4 separate regions of the Homo sapiens genome follow, and regions 2, 3 and 4 are each linked to region 1. Evidence: promoter capture Hi-C in human tissues and cell types (Jung and others, 2019). All regions are on one chromosome and are shown on one strand. Each heading gives the region's core, a stretch centred on a gene start or on the middle of the fragment in contact. The rest is flanking DNA. Distances are from core to core; before and after follow the strand shown. Region 1 holds the start of ZNF24 (zinc finger protein 24). Region 2 has its middle 15 kb from the start of GALNT1. Region 3 has its middle 49 kb from the start of ZNF397. Region 4 has its middle 26 kb from the start of ZNF397.

Evidence for each region. Contacts are between HindIII fragments. The study calls those that stand out against the background at their distance.
Region 2: a fragment that was not itself captured here is called in contact with the fragment with the promoter of ZNF24 in region 1 in 1 of the 25 tissues and cell types used here (thymus).
Region 3: a contact is called between a fragment that was not itself captured here and the fragment with the promoter of ZNF24 in region 1, in 3 of the 25 tissues and cell types used here (dorsolateral prefrontal cortex, hippocampus and lymphoblastoid cells).
Region 4: a contact is called between a fragment that was not itself captured here and the fragment with the promoter of ZNF24 in region 1, in 2 of the 25 tissues and cell types used here (dorsolateral prefrontal cortex and spleen).

Annotation. Positions count from the first base shown.
Region 1 is chr18:35,342,533-35,345,895 of GRCh38, reverse strand. ZNF24 (zinc finger protein 24) reads left to right here and starts at 1,476. Exons shown (of 4, transcript NM_006965.4): 1 at 1,476-1,536. It overlaps LOC124904283 (a long non-coding RNA gene), which reads right to left and starts at 1,842. Exons shown (of 2, transcript XR_007066337.1): 1 at 1,157-1,842. RefSeq lists a silencer at 1,249-1,418 and an enhancer at 2,099-2,158. The HindIII fragment of the contact is 10,533 bases long and covers 1-2,410 here.
Region 2 is chr18:35,564,982-35,568,344 of GRCh38, reverse strand. No RefSeq gene overlaps it. Among named protein-coding and RNA genes, the nearest start is that of GALNT1, 15 kb to the left of the region's middle. The HindIII fragment of the contact is 9,152 bases long and covers 1-3,363 here.
Region 3 is chr18:35,190,299-35,193,661 of GRCh38, reverse strand. No RefSeq gene overlaps it. Among named protein-coding and RNA genes, the nearest start is that of ZNF397, 49 kb to the left of the region's middle. The HindIII fragment of the contact is 5,575 bases long and covers 1-3,363 here.
Region 4 is chr18:35,213,209-35,216,571 of GRCh38, reverse strand. No RefSeq gene overlaps it. Among named protein-coding and RNA genes, the nearest start is that of ZNF397, 26 kb to the left of the region's middle. The HindIII fragment of the contact is 6,511 bases long and covers 1-3,363 here.

The DNA of each region.
Region 1 (3,363 bases), core at 227-2,726:
AGGGGCCGTATCCAAGTAGCAGAGTGAAAAGGCTGTACTTCTGAAGCTTCCTGCAATGGAGAGAAGTGTTAGCAGGGGTTGTGAGAAGAGCTCTGGTCGGAATGAAAAGCAGTGGTATACCATCAGCTGCTCGCTCACTTGCTCTCTCATGCACGAATCCAGCGGAGCCTGACGGCACTTTTCAGAGGGCATTTTCTCCAATGAGGCAAAAAGTCAAAGCCTGAGGATCTTGAAATGCTTATGTTAGGCTGGATCTACACTTTTGACCAGTCCTTAAACAACAGGGCTCCTTTGTGTGGTGTCTGATGCCAATCATGTGACCTAGCTAAAGGCAGCAATGTAACCATCCCACAATTCATTTATTTATTCAACAAATATTTATTGAGTTCTCTATTTACCAGGCAGTCAGCTTCCAGGATCTAGGATGGGATACTGTGGTGAGCAAGACAGACAAGGTCCCTGCCCTTAAGGGACTTAAAGACAAAACAAAACAAAAAATAAAACAAGTAAATAAATGAGATCACTTCCATTAATAACAGTGCCATGAAGGGTCATGCGCCATGAAAGGCAGGTGGTGAGGCTGAGGATCTTGGGCCACAATGAGCCGAGGAGCTGAGGTGACTGGGGGCGCCAGGGTCTGGGGGTGCGGGCAGGCAACAGACCACAGGGGACTTACAGGCCATTATAAGGAGTTTTTATGTCATAAATTATTATGACATAAATTGGAGGGCTTTAAATAGGGGAGTGAAGTGGTCTGATTTGTAATTTTAAATGATCGCGTCAGCAGTTGTTTTATGGTATAAAATGCCCAGCTTTAAGATGACCATGCATTCTACAAATTCACCGTGACATCACTGCCAAAACTCTTAACCTGTCTTATCTAGTTTTCCTGACAGATAAATAGGTCGGAATAAAGCTCCATGACATAACTAGTGGGAGCCAAAGATTTGAATCACGTCTTGGTTTCAAATCTTGCTACCCACAAATGAGTTGTGAGCTCTTGTCAGGTTATTTACTGTATTTGTGCCTCAACTATCTCAGCTGTGAAATGGGGATAATGAAAGTTCCTACATCATTTATTTGTGGAAAAAAAAATGACATGTAAAGCACGACGAGAGCGCCTGGCACAATGTAGTAAGCTTTCACAAACACTCACTTTCATTCCTTCTTGCAGGGGATTACTGAGAGGATCCACAAGATAATGCACGTGAAAGGGCTTGCGAAATTGTAAGGACTATCTTAATGGTAGAGTCCTCTTTATGTTTTCTTTTAAACGGTCCAGAGGACGCTGGGCTGTTCGAGGAGAGGCGCGAGGCCAAGCGCAGCCTCAATGCGGTCATTGTCGTGGGGCCGCCCCTCCCCCGCCCGGGGCGCTTCTCCATGGCAACGTGGGCTTTACCTCTCCCCGCCTCCTCAGGCCCGCAGACCGGAAGCAGCCCGCGCCGGGGGCTTCTGGGAAAAGGCTTGTGAACGGCGTTTCTGCGTCTGCCGTGGACAGCGAAGCTGCTGCGGTTCCTGAGCCGGAGGTTTGCGCCGGTGTGCGGGGAACGTTATGAGAGGGAGGGGGGACACCGGGCTAGGGTCTGCGGACCTCTTAGCAGGAGCCGGCGGGGAAGCCTGTCCGGGACCTTCCTCAGCTTCCCGGGAGGCGCGGGGAACAGGCCGCGGTCTCCGCGCCTAGCAGTTGTGGGGCGGGGAGGGGTAGGCGGCAGGCCTGCTTGGGTCTTCGGCATTTGCAGAGAGCTCTCTAACCCCCTGTGTCCTCCGAGACCCTCACCTTCCCCCTCCCCCACCGGCCGGTTTTGTTCTATTTCGAGGCCCTGGCGTCTCGCGGAGGGTTCTGGGAGTCGTGATGGGAGGGGGTGGTAGTGGGACGAGACTTGCGCGGGGCTTCTGGGATTTGTAGTCTCACCGGCCGCAGGCGGAAGTGCCGTGGTTCCGACGCTGTTGTCACAGGGTGGCCTTTGGTCATCTGAAATCCGCGGTCCTGAGTGCTGGGAAGAGGGGCTAGAGGACGTCGGGCCGGGGCCGGGGCCGGGGCCGGGATACACAGCAGGTCTATGCAGCAGTAAGGTGGGCGATCCACCTGGGACGAGGTACCCTGCCCAAACATTGTCGGGACCGTGGGCCTTCCCTCCATTTCCCACAAGCGGTATGCTCTACAGCATAAAAGGAAGAGAAAATTATGTAGAAATACTTGCACCGTTGATAAGCAGGGTCTTGGAATAGGAACGAATGAATGTTGGCTAGACCTTATGTATAAGGCCACCACACTCCAGGGTATTTAATTAAACCAGTATGTATTACTTGTCTGATAAGGCCTTTTCTGATTCTAGTCTTCATCTTGCTTGGGTTACAATAAGTTTTTTTAAGTTGTTATTGTTCAGATTTTGGGCCCTGAATAAATAAATAGGCTGAATGGCTCATTGCTAGTATGTGTCGTAAACAACAGCACGGGCATGATCGTGCAAATAATAAAGGTCCAGAAGCAGTATACAGTTTCACTGAAGGTAGAAGCTGGGGAAACTGTGAGTCCTCCAGTGTAAGGACAAGACACTGGACCACTGCAGGAAGTCAAGGTGCTTATGCGAGTGCCTTTTCTTAATAGAAGTTTCTGTGATTAATGCCTATCATTATAAATATAAATGTACGTATGGTGTGGTGGAAGACTGAATATTTACGTATTATGTGCAAGATAATTTTTCAAAATTATGTGATGTTTTTCACATATGATCTTTTCAATATTATGTGATCTGCTACTCAGCAAGTGAACATTTTTTCACATATAAGTCCAAGGAGTTCTTAAACACCTTAAAAATATTTTTTAAATGGTAAAGAAAATTTTTTTAAGCACATAATAATAAAGCGAACCTTCCTTTTGAGTTGACTTGTGTGTGTCAGGAAACACCAATCCTGAATTGGAAATAATGCGTTCCAGGGTCAGGCACATTTAGAAAGCACTGAAGTAGTCTGGTTCTTACTTGGATTCTTTTGATTATTGACATAGGGTTTGTCGTCTTAGTAGGTCATGATTGGCAAACTTTTTCTGTAAGCGGCCATATAGTAAATAAGGTCATGCATAACTCAACGATAGTGCTATGGTCTGAGAAATATGTTAGGCTATTTCATCCTTGTGTGAACGTCATAGAATGTACTTGCACAAACCTAAATGGCGTAGCCTACTACACACTTAGGCTATCTGGTATAGCCTATTGCGCCTAGGCTACAAACCGGTACGGCATGTTGCTGTACTGAATACTGTAGAGAATTGTAACACAATGCTAACTATTTGTGTATCAAAACATAGAAAAGATAAGAGTAAAATATGATATAAAATGTTTGAAAAAAAAAAAAGATATGCCT
Region 2 (3,363 bases), core at 483-2,982, 220 kb before region 1:
CTAACCCCTGGCAACTATTAATCTGCTCTCCATCTCTATAATTTTATATTTTTGAAAATATTACATAACTGGAATCATGCTGCATGCTATGAATTGAATTATGTTTAACCTCAATGTGACTGTATTATTAACACTCAATGTGACTGTGTTTGGAAATACAGCCTTTAATGAGGTTAAACAAAGAGACACCAGGGAACTTTTCTCTCTCTCTCTCTCTCTCTCTCTCTCTCTCTCTCTCTCTCTCCCCTCCCTCTCTCTCATTCTCTCTGCCATATGAGGGCAGGGAAACAGTGATTTTCTGCAAGCCAGGAAGAGAGCTTTCACCAGAAATCTACCCTGCTGGGCCTTGATCTGGGATTTCTAGCCTCCAGACTGTAAGAAAATACATTTTTATTGTTTACACCCCTCAGTCTATGGTATTTTGTTATGGCAACTAGCACAGACTCATGCCTCATTTTGTACCTTGGCTTTTCACTCAGCCTAATATTCTTGAAATCTAATCAAGTTTCTGGGTGTTTCAATAATTTGTTCCTTTTTATTGCTGACTTATATTTCACCTGACCGTTTTTAAGAGCTTCAATTTGTCTTTGGTGTTCTGCAGACTAGTATGATATGTCCAGGTGTTAATTTCTTTTCTTTTCTTCTTTTTAAGTTATTCTTGGAACTTGTTGCACTTCCTGAATTTGAGAATTGGTATCATTAATCAATTCTGAAAAATACTCAGCCATTATCTCTTCTGATATGGCCTCTCTCCTATTCTCTTTCCTTTCCTTTTGGAACTCTGATTAGACTTATTAAATGTTCTCACTCTATCCTTGATATCTCTTAACTTTTCTTGTATATTTTCCATCTCTGCATCTTTTTGTTGTATTCTGGGTCATATCTTCAGATTTATATCCCAGTTCACTTATTCTTTCCTGTAGTCTAATTCATCCTTTGAGTTTTTAATATCAATTATTATTTTATAAAACTTTATGATGATATAATTCTTATACCAAAAATAATTTTTAAAGTATAGAATTTTAGTGTTTTTCAGTGTATTCACAGATTTGCGCATCTACCACCACCATTAACATGCAGAACATTATCATCAACCGCAAAAGAAACTCCATATTTATTGGCAGTCATTCCCCATTCTCCTCGTCTCCCAACCCCTAGAAATTACTAATCTACTGTCTATTTTTATAGCTTTGCCTATTCTGGAAATTTCATATAAAAGGAGTACTATAATATATGTAGCCTTTTGTGTCTGGCTTTTTTTCATTCAGCATGAGGTTTGCAAGATCCATTTTGCATGGGTACTTTATTTCATTTTATTGCAAGGTAATATTCTATTGTATATGCCACATTCCACACCACTGTTTGTTAACCATGCTTCAGTTGATGGACATTTGGGTTGTTTCTACTTTGGCACTGCTATGAACATTTAGATGTACAAGTTTGTGTGTAGTTTTGAATTATCTTGTTTGTATGCATGAGAGTAGAATTGCTGGGACATGCAGTAGGTAACTCTATGTTTAATCAGTTGAGGAACTGCCAAACTGTTTCCTAAAGTGGCTGCAGGATTCAACATTCCCACCAGCAATGTGTGAGAATTTAAGTTTTCCTACATCCTTGCCAACACATATTACTTCCATTTTTTATATTAGAGCCACCATAGTTGGTGTGAGGTGGTAGTATCTCATTGTGTCTCTGATTAATAATTTGCTAACGAATATTTTTGCGTGTGCAGATACACACAAATTCCTTTTGAATTGTCTTGGCATCTTTTTCAAAAATCAGTAAATGTAAGGGGTAATTTCTGGAGTCTCAGTTCTATTCCATTGATTTGTATGTCTATTCTTATACCACACTGCACTGATTACTATAGCTGTATAGTAAGCTTTGAAATCAGGAAGTGTGAATGCTCCAATTTTATCCTTATTTTTCAAGATAATTTGGCTATTCTGGATCCCTTCCATTTCTATACGAGTTTTTGGATTAATCTTTCGAAATTCCTAAGATTTTGATAGGGGATGTATTTAGTTTGAATATCAGTTTGAAGATTATTGCCACTTTACCAATACTGAGTCTTCCAATCCATGAGCATGTGATGTCTTTATAGTGATTTGGGTCTAATTTTATTTATTTATTTATTTATTTATTTATTTATTTATTTATTATTTTTTTGAGACAGAGTCTCGCTCTATCACCTAGTCTGGAGTGCAGTGGCACGATCTTGGCTCACTGCAACTGCCACCTCCCAGGTTCAACCTCCCAGGTTGTAGCTGGGGTTACAGGTGCACACCACCAGAACTGGCTAATTTTTTCTGTTTTTAATAGAGATGGGGTTTCGTTTTGTTGGCCAGGCTGGTCTTGAACTCCTGGCCTCATGTGATCCACCTGCCTCAGCCTCCTAAAGTGGTGGGATTACAAGCATGAGCCACCACACTTGGCCCTAATTTAATTTCTTTCAATGATGTTTTGTAATTTTCAGTGCACAAGTTTTACTCCTCCTAAGTTTATTTCTAAGTATTTTATTCTTTTTGATGCTATTATAAACATAATATTTCCAAATTTTACGTTCAGATTGCCCATTGCTTACATATAGAAATATAATTGCTTTTTGTATATTGATACTGTATCCTGCAATCTTGTTGATTTTATATAATTTTACTTCTTCCCTTCCAATCTGAATGTTTTATGTTTCTTTCTTGCTTAATTGCTGTGGCTGGAACTTCCAATATATCATGTTGAATAGAAGCAGTGAGAGCGGATATCCTTGTCTTGTTCCTGATCCTAGGGGGAAAATACTCAGTTTTTCACCTTTAAATACATTGTTAGCTATGTGTTTTTCATGGATGGCCTTTATCAGATTGAGGAATTTCTCCTTTATCCCTAGAGTTTTTTTTTTTTTTTATGAAAGGATGGGTTTTGTGGAATGTTTTTCTATGTCTATTGAGATGATCATGTAGTTTTTGCCCCCTTACTCTACTAATATGACATGTTACATTGATTGATTTTCATATGGTAAGCCAAGCTCACATACTGTGATAAATCCCACGTGGTCATGATGTATAATCCTTTCTATATGCTGCTGAAATCAGTTTGCTGGTATTTTGATGGGGATATTTCAGTCTGTATTCAAAATTGGTCTGTAGCTTTCTTGTGATGTTTTTGTCTAGTTTCGGTGTCAGGGAAATTCTGGTCTCAGAGAGTAAGTTGGGAAGTATATACCAATTCTAATTTTTACAAGAGTTTGTGAAAAACTCATGTTAATTCTTTCTTAAAAGCTCAGTAGAGTCCAGTAGTTTAGCCATGTGGGTTGGGCTTTTCTGTGTGGTTAGTTTTTGGTTTGTTTGTTTCTTCATTTGTTTTGTTGTT
Region 3 (3,363 bases), core at 278-2,777, 150 kb after region 1:
ACACTGTTTTTAATATCATTGTTAGAGACATGGGGACTCAGCAGTGTGAAAGTCTATTGTAAGCCATCTCCCTGTGTCATGGCCAGGGTGTAGTAATGGAAAGGGTATATTTCACTTCAGTAGAAAGAAGAGCAAACAATGAGAGTGCCTGCCGTTCACCTCTGCAGAGAGATGACTTGGCAACATTAGCCTGTGACTGAGAAGGAGTCTAATCTGTCAGAAAGAGACCCTTAAAGTTGGCAGCCATCTAGACCTGTTGTATATGTGGCATGTGTGCTTTTGTCTGGATGGAGGGTCCTCAGTGTTTGTCAAATTATGGCATCCACAAACAAAATAATGTTGAGAACTAGCTTATCTACATGTAGCCTTACAACAGTAATTAAAAAAAGATGTAGTTTAAATATATAGCTGAAGATAATTTATGAGGATGCATTTATGTGTGGTTTTGTATTAGGCACTTTGAATAAAGAGAAGTTGATGGGCAATATTTTCCAAAGGTTAAGAGCAGTGGGATTCAGGAGTCAAATCTTAGGTTTCAATCATTATCACTGTCCCTCCCATTTCTAACTTAACTTGGAAGGGTCAGATTCCTCTTCTGTACAATAGGGATTATAATATGTACCTCTCTGGGTTAACATGGGTATTACATGAGGGAGCTGAATTATCTGTACAAAGAAAACACAAATTGTCCAAACAGAGCAGAGTATGACATTCATTCCTAGGTACTCAGTAGATGATTATAATCAGAGCCCTATATTCTTTATATTAAAAATTAAAACAGCTTAAATAATCCCTCCGATATCCAGGGCACATAGAAAACAGCAAAAAGATTAAATTAGTTTAAGTTAAGGAAAGTGAGTTTTCAGCAAAATCAAAGTGGGAAATGGGGAGGAAAGGCAGCTCGTAGGTGGTATTTGAAGAAGCTCTCCAGGTCACAATGAGAAGGCTTGATAGAGAAGCGAAGCTGATCAAGCAGCAGCAGGACGTGTATGATATGACACTGCTTCTGAGGCACCTCAGATGCAAGAGTAGGTCACAGTCTGAACCATGTTCAGATACTCCAAGGTTTAATTATGTAAATGACTTCTCCAGGGGATATTCCAGCTGCTTGCAAAGCCACTTCAGCCATGCTTCATTTATCACAGTCATGAACACACAAGAGCCTTCATATTGAAAAATTTATTAGTCTACAATGGGGATTGGGAGATGGAAAGGAAGGGCTTGATAACTAAAAGTGCTGCGGAGCTTCCATTGCTCTCACAGCAGTTACAAAATGGGCAGGTACAATCCTTGACCTCGAGCAGGATAAAGGCTTCAAAGTGAAGTCTTCCTCGGCCTGCTTTAAATGAGGGTGTTAGTGTAAAAGAAAGAAATGCTTTCCCAATAAAATTAAAATTTTCCAGAGAGCAGTTGAGATGACAAAGTATTTTAAATGATCATCGGCAATCTTCATCAATTGAAGACACAGCCGGGCGTGGTGGTGTGTGCCTGTAGTCCCAGCTACTCTGGAGGCTAAAGCTAGAGGAACCCTTGAAGCAGGAGTTCGAGACCAGGAGTTCTCTTTATGTTGCCTGGGCACCATAAAGAGACCCCATGTCAAAATGAAAACGAAACAAAAAGTGAAGACAGAAGATATTTTCAACTATCTTTTTTTTTTTCTTTTTTTAAATAAATTTAATTTAATTTCACTGTTTCCCAGGCTGGTTTCCAACTCCTGGCCTCAAGCGATCTGCCTATCTCTGCCTCCCAAAGTGTTGGGATTACAAGCATGAGCCACTGAGCCGGGCCACAGCTAGCTATTTTCTTAGTGTAACAATGCATATTACATTCCCTAGCACAGCGTCTGGCACATAGTAGGCCTCACATGTTTCCTCCTCCTCCACTCTTTCATATCTTTCCTATTCGATGAACACTTCAGAGCTTATTACGAACCCAGGTCACAATACCACAGTGGTGTTTTCTAATGAATGACAAGACACATTTGCATGATAAAATATTCTTGTTTTGTTTTTTAACTTACAAAAAAGGTCCTGCATAAGATTTGTGGGCCCCTTAGGGTCAAGCATTCTCTGTTCTCACAAGACATAAAAGCTGAAGCTTTTTAACAAATAGAAACAGTGGATTTTCTTTGCTCTGCAGTAAAGACCAGAGAAAAGTTTATGGACTTGTCCTTAGGTTTTATGAATGGGACGTGAAAACACCCACTTCCCCTTCCCAGAGGCTGTTTCAGAGAATAACCTCTTTTCTCATTCTACTTATGTTCTAAAGCCTTGCACAAAGCTAGTAATTTATAATTGCTGATTTGACTGAATGTATAATCTCTATCTTAAAGCATTTCAAGTTCTTTTTGGCAACCGCAGGGAGTTTCCAAGTTCCAAAAGGGAATGTTCAGTTTACTTTCATCTTTAATTATCTGGGATGGTGGTTTTAATCCTACTGAAAGAGTTAAGTGTCGATCAAAAGAAAAATCCATATGGTAAGATAGGGTGGTGAGGGAAGACCAAGTCATGCAGAATGCTAGGTAAGCAGCAATTTACAATTCAACTCCTGTCCTCAGTGCTATCAGAATATCAATAGTTAGGATTTGTTTACTTTTTTCAGATTTACAAGAGATAAATTCCAAACCTCACGATGGTATCCCCTTACTTAAGATGACAAAGTTCATCTGTTTTCATTCAGATGAACCATACTTTTGGGTTATAAGAGAACTTTGGGTAAATCTCTTTCTCTCTCCTAGTTTATAAACAACAGATATTTTTTTCTCATTGTTCTGGATGCTGGGAAGTCTGAGATCAAGATGCCCGCAGATTTGGGTCTGGTGAAGGCTGCTTCCTGGTTCATAGATGGCACCTTCTAGCTATGTCCTCACATGATGAACGGGCCTACATTTTTATTTCTAGAGGCATTAAGTTTACCTGAAATATGGCAAGTTTCTAGTGTCTTCTCTTGTTTTTTAAATAGCATGTTTTGGTAGCATAATATTGTCCTAAATTATTTCTTAGGGAACAAAGTAACATCTTGACTTATAGCAAATTGAGAAAAGGTGCTGGATAAAGTTCCAGAGCCCATTACAAGGCATCTGAGAACCTCCAAATACCAGGGTAGACTTGGAAACCTCAGAATCTCCTTGTATTTCTTTTCTAGAAGTCTAACAAGGGATTAGAGTCAACCTGGGACCCCAAGAACAATCTGCTCTGGGTACCAGCCAGAGTTGAAGAGCCTGGAAGGGCAGATGAATTTTTGCAAACTCTAGCGCAGTTTAAAACCTCACAGGAGAGGGTGGCAAGCTGTGGTCTCTGAGGTCTGATTGCCAGGGTTTGAATTCTGGCTCTGCCACTTACTAGTTGTACAACCTTGGGAAAG
Region 4 (3,363 bases), core at 358-2,857, 130 kb after region 1:
AGAGGCCGCTTACCTGATTTAAAATTGGTGAAATGTTCCTTGGGCTGGTTGGTCTGAGGACCCGAGGTTGTAGGTGGATCTTTCTCACGGAGCAAAGAGCAGGAGGACAGGGGATTGATCTCCCAAGCGAGGTCCCCCGATCTGAGTCACGGCACCAAAATTTCATTCGCGTCCATGTGAAGAGACCACCAAACAGTCTTTGTGTGAGAAATAGAGCTTTTTAATCACCTGGGTGCAGGCAGGCTGAATCCGAAAAGAGAGTCAGCGAAGGAAGATAGGGGTGGAGCTGTTTTATAACATTCGGGTAGGTAAAGGAAAAAAGGGGGGTTGTTCTCTGGCGGGCAGGGGTGGGGGTCACAAGGTGCTCACTGGGGGGAGATTTTGAGCCAGGATGAGCCAGGAGAAGGAATTTCACAAGGTAATGTCATCAGTTAAGGCAGGAACAGGCCATTTTCACTTCTTTTGTGGTGGAATGTCATCAGTTAAGGCAGGAACCGGCCATCTGGATGTGTCCATGCAGGTCACAGGGGATATGATGGCTTAGTGAAAGTGAAAAGTGACAACTGGGATATAAGTAAACAGTTTTTCTTTTGATATGTTATTTCAGTTATTTTTTACCATAACTTGGTAGATACTGTTATTTTATGGATGACAAAACCAAGTCACAGATTGGTTAAATGAGCCCAAGTTCACACAGACAGTAATAGAGCCTGAATTTCAAGTTTGGCAATTTTTTGTTTTTTTTCTTGTTTTTTGTTTTGTTTTTGAGATAACTAAATATTCACAGTTAGCTGCAAAAATGGTAGAGAGGTCCTATGTACACTTTACCAAGTTTTCCCCAGTGGTTTTGTCATTGGAGAAGATGCACATAAGATGTAAACATTTATATAACTTATATAGCCATCTTATTTAACCATAAGTTGCAGCAATTGGGGAAATTGGGTAAACAGTTACATCTCATTAGAGAGTACAACATTAAAACTAGAAGGATTCTGGGAAGATGGCAGAGTAAAAAGTCTCAGGAATCTGTCTCCTCACCTAGACAGCAACTGCACCAGCAGAATCTGTCTGATGTAAATACTTTTGGAACTCTGGCATCTATTGAATTGAAGGCTTACAATTTCTATAGAGTGGCTTGCACAAGTAAATTGCGGTTAAGTTAAATCAATTTCAGCCCTTAGGACAGTAACAGTTCATATCCCCCACCTCCAGTCCTGGGATAGTTAGTTATGTATTCCTGGAGCAGCTTGCACATAGCTTGTGGAAGCCAAGGAGGGCAAAAAGGACCCTGTTCTACAAATATGGGGGATCTGTACTCTGATTGCTGAGTGCTGCTTCTGATCACCTGGCTCCATTGTTGCTGCTTCTGCTACACCTCCCCCATTGTTGCAAACCTTTCTCCTTCTGGCTGAAGTGACATCCAGGGGATTTAAAGGGCCAGTTCTATATTTCCCCTACTCTTGAGTTTTTTTTTTTTTTCTCCCTTTTGGGAGCCAGACATTAAAGACTGGAACATTCAAAAGGAACTGGATATATGAGCACAATTGGAAAGTGACCATAGTTGCTTAGAAAAAGGCACTGGAACAGCCTACAACAATCAGAAAAACAAAAAGAATAACAGAAGCAATGGCAGACAAACAGCAAAAGGGAGAATATGATTTTCAGAGTTACCACATTATTTGATTTGAATGTCCAGTTTTCGACAACAACAAAATCACAAGGAAAACAAAGAAGCAGGAAAGTTTGGCTCATTTAAAAAATAAGCAGAAACTGTCCCTGAAAAAGACCTGATGGCAGATCTATTAGACAAAGATTTAAAAACCATTGTCTTAAAGATTCTCAAACAACAAAAGAAACGTGGAGAAAGTCAAGAAAATGATGCATGAGCAAAATGGGAGTATCAGTAAGGAAATAGGCTAAAATAAATAAATAAATTCTAGAGCTGAAAAATACAATAACAAATTAAATGTTCACTGAAGGGATTCGCAGGCAGGTTTGAGCAGGCAGAAGAAAGAATGAGCAAACTTGAAGGTAGGGCATGGAAATTATTGAGTTTGAGAAACAGAAAGAAAAAGGATTGAAGAAAAGTGAATAGAGCCTAAGGGACCTGTAGGGCACCATCAAGCAGATGGATGACTATACACATATCAGGAGTTTTAGAAGAAGAAGAGAGAAAGGGACAGAGAGAGTATTTGAAAAAAAAATGGCTTGGCCGGGTGCAGTGGCTCACGCCTGTAATCCCAGCACTTTGGGAGGCTGAGGCAGGTGGATTGCTTGAGGTCAGGAATTCAAGACCAGCCTGGACAACATGGTGAAACCCTGTCCCTACTAAAATACAAAAATTAGCTGATCGTGGTGGTGGGCACCTGTAATCCCAGCTACTAGAGAGGCTGAGGCAGGAGAATTGCTTGAACCCAGGAGGTGGAGGCTGCAGCAAGCCCAGATCGTGCCATTTCACTCCAGCCTAGGTGACAGAGTGAGACTCCATCTCAAAAAAAAAAAAAAAAAAAAGAAAGAAAGAAAGAAAAAAAGAATGGCTGAAAGTCCCCCAAATTTGATGAAAGGCATCAATATAAACATCCAAGAAGCTTAGAAAACTCCAAGTAAGATGAACTCAAAGAGACTTACACTGAAATACATTTTAATCAAACCATGAAAATACAAAGATAAAGAGAGAACCTTGAAAGCAGTAAGAAAGAAGTGATTCATCACTTTCAAGGGATCCTCAATAAGATTATCAGCTGATTTCTCATTAGAAACTTTGGGGGTTAGCAGAAGGGCTAGAAACTCTGTAGGCTGATATGTAAAACACAGGTAACAAAAGAAAAAATAGACAAATTAGACTACATGAAAATTTAAAAATTGGCCAGGCATGATGGCTCATGCCTATAACCCCAGCACTTTGAGAGGCCAAGGCAGGAGAACTGCTTGAGCTCAGGAGTTCAGACCAGCTTGGGCAACATAGTGAGGCCTCATCTCTACTTAAAAAATAAAATTAGCTGGGTGTGGGGGCATGGGACTATAGTCTCAGCTACTTAGGAGGCTAAGATGGGAGGATTGCTTGGGCCTGGGAGATCAAGGCTGCAGTGAACTTGATCATGCCACTGCACTCCAGCCTGGGTGACAGAGCAGGACCCCATCTCAAAAAATAAAAAAAATTTTAAAAATTAAAGATTTTTGTGCATCAAAAGATAATGTCAAAAGAGTGAAAAAGCAACCTATAGCTGAGCACAGTAGTGTACACCTGTAGTCCCAACTGCTCAGGAGGCTGAGGCAGGAGAATCACTTGGGCCTAAGAATATGTGACCAGCCTGGGCAAAAAAGCAAGATCCCATCTCAAAAAAAAAAAAAAAAAAAACTAAG